Regions from separate parts of the Homo sapiens genome. Here region 2 is linked to region 1. The links are contacts of gene promoters, found by promoter capture Hi-C in blood cells and fetal thymus (Javierre and others, 2016). All regions are on one chromosome and are shown on one strand. The core of a region is centred on a gene start or on the middle of the fragment in contact, and the rest is flanking DNA. Distances in the headings are between cores, read along the strand shown. Region 1 holds the start of UCK1 (uridine-cytidine kinase 1). Region 2 overlaps RAPGEF1 (Rap guanine nucleotide exchange factor 1).

Region 1 (4,168 bases), core at 423-2,922:
CAGATCTAAGCCAGCAGCGTGGCTGTTTGCTAGGCACTGTTCTGTGCCTGGGGCTTAATTTACAGAGGTACGGCTGAATGACCATGAGGAGAGGCCAAAGCCATCGCAAGATTGATCGCATTTCCTGAGAGAAGGGGCACCCATGCCATGCACGGTTCTCAGTAGAGAACCCCAGGTTTGGTCAGGAGGCAGAAGCAGGGGCGAGGGGAGAGCCCAGGCCTGAGGCTTTCTTGGGGTTTCCATGGAAAAGGCCTGGCAGGGCAGGGAAAGAGTTTAAAATTGGCTAGTTTGAGTAATTCTAGCAGGCTCTGGGCTGCAGAGTGGTCTCTAGTCACCTGATACCTGGCCCTGGGTGACTTAGGGCAGGGAGAATCTTGCCTCCAAAGGCGAGAATTAGATAAGGAGGTAGCTGGGGCTGTAGACTTGGGGTCTTTTTTTTTTTTTTTTTTTTTTTTGAGACAGAGTCTCACTCTTTCCCCCAGGCCGGAGTGCAGTAGCGTGATCTTGGCTCACTGCAAGCTCCACCTCCCGGGTTCACACCATTCTCCTGCCTCAGCCTCCCGAGTAGCTGGGACCACAGGCGCCCGCCACCATGCCCGGCTAATTTTTTGTATTTTTAGTAGAGACGGGGTTTCACCATGTTAGCCAGGATGGTCTCGATCTCCTGACCTCGTGATCCACCCGCCTCGGCCTCCCAAAGTGCTGGGATTACAGGTGTGAGCCACCGCGTCCGCCCGGGGTTGTCTGTTTTGTATATGAAAAGCATGCTCTGCCCCGAGCCTTAGCTATCTCTCTCTCTTTTTTATTTTTGAGACGGAGTCTTGCTCTGTGGCCCAGGCTGGAGTGCAGTGGCACCATCTCGGCTCACTGCAACCTCCACCTCCCGGGTTCAAGCGATTCTCCTGCCTCAGCCTCCCAAGTAGCTGGGATTACAGGCGCCCGCCACCACGCCCAGCTGATTTGTTGCATTTTTAGTAGAGGCGGGGTTTCACCGTGTTCGCCAGGATGGTCTCGATCTCCTGACCTCGTGATCTACCCGCCTCAGCCTCCAAAAGTGTTGGGATTACAGGCGTGAGCCACCGCGCCCGGCTGGAAATCCATAATTTCAATGGATCAGAATTTGCCTGTCACGTTCTCTGTGCCAGGCACGGAGCGGGGGGGCGGCAGGGATGGAACCCGGCACATGGGCCTCTGCCTCCTTGGCGCGCTGTAGGCGCGAGCCTAAAGTCATCAGGCGACAGCCCCCGCCACGTTCCGGGGCGCCCCGACGGCTCCAGCAGCGGGTGGGGTGGGAGGCGTCCGGACAGTCCGGAGGCCTCGATGGCCAAGAGGAGCCTGGGCTGGAGGGGGCCAGGCCCGGGGGCGGCCGGGGGAGGGCCCGGGACTGGCGCAGAGGCAGCGCGAGGCAGAGGCAAGCACTCGGACGAAGGCGCAGCCCCAGCCTCGGGGTGCGGAACGGGCACCTTCCGGGCCACTTGAGTCTGAGACCTTGTAGCCGGCTCGAGGCCCGGGCGCAGCAGTCCCTGCCAGCCAGCTTTCGGCGCAATGGGACGCGGGCGCTCCTGGTGTGCCGGCCTCGGGCCCTGCACCCTCACGCATGCGCGGCCCCCCCCCCCCCGGTGGACTACAACTCCCGGCGTGCCCCGCGCGCCTCCCGGAAGTGATCGCTCCGGTTGCCTCCGACCTCGGCGCTGGGCGGGCGCGCCGGGCCTGGGGAAGGGGCGGGCGCGGGGACCCGATGCGCGGGAGCGGAGGCCGAGATGGCTTCGGCGGGAGGCGAAGACTGCGAGAGCCCCGCGCCGGAGGCCGACCGTCCGCACCAGCGGCCCTTCCTGATAGGGGTGAGCGGCGGCACTGCCAGCGGGAAGGTAAGGGGCCGAGCGGGCCGGGGTCTCGCCTCTCGCCGGTGCCTACGGGCGGCCCGGTCCAGAGAGGAGACCCCAGCCCCGGCCGAGGGGCCCCCTGCCAGGCAGGGGCAGGGCGCGGGAGCGAAGGGGCTGCAGGCCGCGATGGGCCGGGGCGGGCTGGGGCGGGCGAGGGGTTGGGGCGCTGGGCCTCGGGGCTCCCCCACAGCCTCTCCGCCGGCCGGGCTCCTCGGAGCCCCAAGTCCGTGCTAACCCCGTTGGGCCCCCGCGGCCCTTCCGCTGAGACCATCCACACCTGTTGGTGTCCTCCCGCCTTCCGAGCATACCCCCCAGGGGGCGGGTGGGTCAGTGTCTCCAGAAGCCGGCCCCGTGCCTGTCACAGGACGAGCGGTTCCAGGCGGGAATCCCGCTTCTGTGTCTCCAGTCGACCGTGTGTGAGAAGATCATGGAGTTGCTGGGACAGAACGAGGTGGAACAGCGGCAGCGGAAGGTGGTCATCCTGAGCCAGGACAGGTTCTACAAGGTCCTGACGGCAGAGCAGAAGGCCAAGGCCTTGAAAGGACAGTACAATTTTGACCATCCAGGTAAATCGCGAGCCCAACGATGTGGGGAGGGCAGACCCCATTCTGGGCGGCCGCTAACCAGCTGCGCTTGGGCCCAAGGTTGGATGGATGCAGACCCGCTTGGGCTGTTCCCCCAACTCGCCACGCAGCCTGCAGTGGAGTTGGCTGCACAGTGAAGTCAGGGGAACTTTGCTGAGTTCTCTGGGCCCTGAGTGTCCCCCCAGGAGCGTGGTTGGAGCCAGTCAGGAAGCCTGTTGCACTGTGGGGAGCCCTGCCCTGCCCTGCCACAACTGTGATCCTGGAGAAATCCTCCCATCTTCCCTTCCCACGTTGGGGCCTTTAGGGCCCTCCACACACACCTCTGCCCACTGTGCCCTCCCGTGCTTTGGGGCAAAGTCCTCAGAGAGGCCAGTGTGGGAGGCGGTAGGTAAACTAGTGCTGGTGGCTTGAAGCTCCGGGCCAGGTAAACGGGCAGATGCGGCAGGGAGACACCTGCCACTGCTAGAAGATTCCACCCTGGCTGGCTGGCATGGTCAGCCTTTTCCCAAGGACTTGTGGGAAGAAGGCCTGCAAAGCCGCAGTCTAACCAGTTAGTCCCAGAAAGAGAGAGAAGCAGAGGCCCAGCCTACCCACCTCCCAGGAAGAGCTGATCAGAAAACCCCTGTGTTCCGGCATCTCAGGGGCACAGAGCTTGGGCAGTGGCACAGCCCGAGAACAGCAAGGACAGGGTCATCCTGTGGTCTGCAGGGCTGCAGAGGGCACTGTTGCTACCAAACATACACTGCCGTAGTCCTAGTCTACCTGTGCTAGGGTTCTCGGTGTCCCCAGCACCCAGCTGTGCTGACCCCAGAGCAGAGAGGGTTCCCTGCTGTCCGCTGCACGAGGGCATCTGCCTGTCTTGCCTTTGTCTCCAACCCTGCAGATGCCTTTGATAATGATTTGATGCACAGGACTCTGAAGAACATCGTGGAGGGCAAAACGGTGGAGGTGCCGACCTATGATTTTGTGACACACTCAAGGTAAGCAGGTGGTTCTAGGGAGGGCCGAGGAGAGGGGCCAGCTAGGACGTCCCCTCGGGCTCACACAGACCTGCCTGGCGGCAGGCCTCCCCCGGTTGGTTTCTGTGGGTCCCCCACCCCTTCCCACAGTCAGTGTCCCTGCAATGGAAGCTGACTGTGTGTGTGGCCTGGAGACCCTGTGTCTGCAGCAGAGCCCCTTTCCCCGTGCGCCCCTCAGGTTACCAGAGACCACGGTGGTCTACCCTGCGGACGTGGTTCTGTTTGAGGGCATCTTGGTGTTCTACAGCCAGGAGATCCGGGACATGTTCCACCTGCGCCTCTTCGTGGACACCGACTCCGACGTCAGGCTGTCTCGAAGAGGTAAGGCGGCCGCGGGCCTCCGTGCCTGCCTGGCCGAGGCTGGCGGCAGGTCCTGAGGTCTGAAGCACGCCTGCCCCTTGCCGCTGCAGTTCTCCGGGACGTGCGCCGAGGGAGGGACCTGGAGCAGATTCTGACGCAGTACACCACCTTCGTGAAGCCGGCCTTCGAGGAGTTCTGCCTGCCGGTACCTGTGCTCGCTGCTTCAGAGCCCATTTTCCCCTTTCACAAGGACACATGGGACCCAGTACTGTGAGAGGGCTTAGTGCTGGGTGACAGTGATCTGATTGAAAAAAAGGAGAAGAATTTGGCTCATTATGGCCACATACCCTGGGAGTAGTTCTCAGCTGTAAAAACATTCTCT
Region 2 (4,168 bases), core at 1,103-3,602, 200 kb before region 1:
GTAGCTCCTGTCACCTTGGAGCAGTTCACTGGGCCTGCTAAAGTGGCCACAGGCTTGCCCAGCACGCTGCCTGAAGATGGAATAAATAGGTGTCTCACGCTCAGTGTGCTACGGTTTCAAATGTGTGAAGATGCTTTTATTGTAAATCGAAAAGAAATTTATAATGACTGCATTTCATGGTCACATTTTTGTCATGATATATTTTCTCAGAACAGATACTAAGAGTACAGGCCCTATGATGTAGGGCTACTCATTTTTGTGGCCTGAGAAAGAGGTCCTCTTAGATTGGCAGTCATTGTATTTCGATCAATTTTAAACTCGTCAAATTTGTACTTCCTTTTTCCTCCATAGTTAGGAATTTTTGTCGTCAAAGTATACTCAGTCAAGCAATGAGACATTTTGATGGCACCTGCTCTGCCTCCTTTCACTCACCCGTTTTAACACTTACTGAGTGCCTCCTTGTTGGCAAACACCAAGTGATGCCTCGTGGCAGGGAGCCAGCAGGAACCTGTCCCTGGAGGCCACAGTCCAGGGGTAGAATCAGAACGATCTTGAACATCTCTGCAATTTCCTGTGGTTTTCAGAATGCATTTATAGACTACCTCATTTCATTTCATCCTCACAACAGCCCAGGGGGTGAGGGCAGGGCGGAGTATCCCTCTTTTGCCCCTCAGGGCAGCTAAGGCCCAGGGAAATTTGGTTGTTTGCCCAAGGTCATGCCCTGGAGAAGTGGAATGGGGAACCGGCCCCCTTTCTTGCCTTTATAGAGCACTGGTTAGAGCCTCCCTGGTTGCTGGGGACACAGCTTTCCATCTTAATTCTTCAGGCTTCTCAATCTCTTTTCTGATCTTTGAAAAAAAAGATCTACCAATGAAATTAAGGGAGGCTCACTACAGTCTTTAGACTGCGTCTGATACTCGTAATACTAGTCACATTAACAGTGCTGTAGAGAGATAAGAAATAGCACTAATGCCAGCTAAGTGTGTTTTTAGAAAAATCAACCACAGCAACCCCAAATGTTTCCTGGTCTCCAGAGCAGCTGTTGGCAGAGGCGGTTTGAATGGGATTCCTTGTAGCCAAGAGACCTTATAGGAGGTCTGTAGAGATGAGTCATGTGTGAGCTTGCAGAAAAATGTCTCCCAAAGTAGCCCGGATTGGAGATTGCCTTGAGTGCCAGGCTGGGTCTTACCTCAGGCCAGCTGAGCGTGTTCCCCATGGCCAGGATAAGATCACGCTCTGGAAAGAGGAGAGGCCTGACAACCCACCGCCTGCCCCACCCCGCGGCCGCCTCGCCGCCGGGACAGGTGTTCCTCTGACTCGTCACCCGTCTTGCCCCAAAGGCTGTTTTATGAGTAAATAAATAAAACCCACCGTTTGTGAATTATTAAGGGATCTGTCATCCAGCAGGCCAGTCATCTTAGTTTCTGGTCATCTGTTTGAGAACATCTTAGTTGTGTCCTTGGGTGATTCTTACCCTTTCCTGGGGCTTATTTTCCCCATCAGTGCCAGGAAGGAGTGGGACTCAAAAGGAGCGCTCCTCTGTTTGTGTTTTTAAGCTGTAGCCACTGCCCCCGCCAACCCCGCACCACCCCCCCCCCCGCCCCCGCCCCGGCTTTTTTAAATTTTAAGTTCTGGAATACATGTGCTGAACGTTCAGGTTTGTTACATAGGTATACATGTGCCGTGGCGGTTTGCTGCACCTATCAACCCGTCATCTAGGTTTGAAGCCCCGCATGCGTGACTGCAGGCCCTTTTTTATACATAAGAAGGCCATTAGGTAACCACTAATGGGGAAGCCTCTTTGAATGCAGTCCTTCCTGCTTAGCTGTGGCCGAGGCTCCTCCTTGGACCCTCCACCCCAAACACAATGTGAAAACCCACTTCCTCGATGCTCTCACAGCTGCCTCTACCAAAATCAACTTCCTCTGGGCTCTTTGTGCCTTCTCTTCCTCTAACATATAGTAAATTCCATGGAAATGCCCCAGATCAATGCTTGAGTAGAATGATGTTTCACTCATTCAAAATCAAAGCCCCAGTTTCCTTTCTGCAAGTTAAAAAATCAACAAGTGAAATGTTAAACAGATGATTAGCTCCGTGAGGGAGTGTGTCTACCACTGCGGTGCCATTACGGTGCCTTGAACGCAATAGGTGCTCAGTAAATACTTACTAAAAGAATGAGTGAATTTAGTTAATATTATCATAGAATGAATTTTAGTTTCTGGTTCCAAGTCTCAAATTATCTTTAGACGTAGCTTATTGTGGTTTCAAATTGCCAATTAGGATGTTTCTTGGTACATTAGTAGGACCAATATCTGATCAGTGGTGTGCAGTTAGTTGGGGGTTCTGTGTTTTCCTGTAGTCCTCTGAACACTAATGATGAGGTTAGGATCAAATTCCCAGAACACCACTGGGAGAACGCCAGGACACCGTGAAGGCTGAGCCGCCACTCGGTTCTGATGCCGCATCCATTGGTCAGTGCACGTTCTTTGAGCTTCCACTTGAGTGCACGTTCTTTGAGCTTCCACTTGAGTGCATGTTCTTTGAGCTTCCACTTGTAGTGACTGCCTGGTTCTTTGGGATGTGCAGGAGCAAAGCGCTCTTAGGTAATGCTCGTTCTGCCCTGTGTTTACAAACCAAGGCCTGTGCCAGCTCTACTCAGCCTGACACCCATAATGAGCACCATCCCAGGAATCCCTGTCCCTACTTGTTATTTTTTTTTTTTTCAGTTGGCCTTTGAATGTGATTTAGGACTGGCTTCCTGCAGCATTACTCTCTTTTCCCAGGATGACTGTGCAGCGTGTGCTGTCTAGGGCTGGGGTGCAGGCTGTTGGTGTGCCTCTGGCACCCCCTTCCTTCTTTGTCAAGAGGCATGGGCAGTATTTTCTTGCTACTTCCCCCTCCTCTGTGAGCTAAGGTACAGGGGGGGAGGTTCATCTGAATTTATTAGAAATCTGCTGTCTGCTGGTCACAATTCCTTTCTCCCACTTTCTTCTCCCAGGCTGTAGTTTGAAAGACAGGTGACAATTCTCTGAACCCAAGTCCCACCCTGCAGTCTGGACTGCTGCTTCCCGGAACACCACGACTCCTGTAACAGCTTAGACTTCTGTCCCCACAGTCCCTTAGCAGCAGCTTTCTCTTTGCTTTTCACTGGCTTGCCCAAACCACACAGTGACTTTACTGCATATTAAGTTTTGTGATCAGGCGATTCTGCAGTGCTTTTAAAGCGTAGAAATGGAGCACTGAGCACAGGATGCTGTGTGGTTTGCCCAGGGCTGGGTTCAGAGGGGCGGATTTCAGGCATTTGCTCTATAGCTTTTAAAATTTGTGCCACTGATGTGGACCTGACAGATGCGATTCCCAGCCACACACTGTATTGTTAAAAACGGAGCAGGAGTGTGACACTGACAGTAACTGAGAGAAGGAAGGACATGGAATGAGAAGAGAGGACAGCTGACATCCAGTGGAATGTGACCGTGTTAAATAGCCACTTAGCTGACCCCAAACGAGCAAACAAACAAAACCCCTGGTTGGAAACAGTGGTTGTATTTATTTGCTGGTTATCACATGCGCCCATCCTCCTTCAAGTGATGGTTCTGAATAAATAGATGGATGATTGTTCATGAGTCATGGAATTGGCTACTCTCAACCCCTCCTTTCAATAATAAATACAAATAATAGTAGTAGCTGATGTTCATTAGGCACTTACCACGTGCTGTACCAGGCTCGCTTCTGTATATTTTACACTTGTGGTTGCATTTAATCCTTACAATAGGAGAAAGGTACTGTTAACTGTTCTCATCCTACAGAGGAGGAGACTAAGACACAGAGCTTTTCTTTGAGACCTGAAAGAGTTAACATTTGCACATAGTCATATACTGAGTTGGGGCAAAGTTAGGACTAAAGCCCATCTGACTATTCCCCATGCATCTATATTTTTATTGATTCTGATATTATTCTCTTGGCTGTGTGACTTGGGTGAAAATGAGCCTTCATGTTTCCAGGGACCCCTCTGCCACAGAGGCAGCTGCTGCACTAACAGGACACCCCATCATCCTGAGGATTCCTTCAGAAGACAGCTCTCCTCCTGACTGTCCTGCTGGAGCTCACAGGGGGCTGCGGAAGCCTTGCTTCTGGCTGGGTGACCGTGGGCAAATTGCTTAATCTCCTG

What was found. The method cuts DNA at HindIII sites, captures the fragments that hold promoters and counts their contacts. A CHiCAGO score of 5 or more calls a contact.
Region 2: a fragment that was not itself captured here is called in contact with the fragment with the promoter of UCK1 in region 1 in 1 of 17 cell types (neutrophils); the score reaches 5.8 in neutrophils.

What each region holds. Positions count from the first base shown.
Region 1 is chr9:131,528,767-131,532,934 of GRCh38, reverse strand. UCK1 (uridine-cytidine kinase 1) reads left to right here and starts at 1,672. Exons shown (of 7, transcript NM_031432.5): 1 at 1,672-1,868; 2 at 2,290-2,449; 3 at 3,351-3,447; 4 at 3,665-3,807; 5 at 3,897-3,991. The coding sequence starts at 1,761. RefSeq lists silencers at 1,267-1,436, 1,577-1,936, 2,137-2,186 and enhancers at 1,602-2,515, 3,221-4,168. The HindIII fragment of the contact is 8,496 bases long and covers 1-4,168 here.
Region 2 is chr9:131,730,797-131,734,964 of GRCh38, reverse strand. All of the region lies in intron 1 of RAPGEF1 (Rap guanine nucleotide exchange factor 1), which reads left to right. Among named protein-coding and RNA genes, the nearest start is that of RAPGEF1, 7.2 kb to the left of the region's middle. RefSeq lists silencers at 1,089-1,383, 1,760-1,809. The HindIII fragment of the contact is 9,723 bases long and covers 1-4,168 here.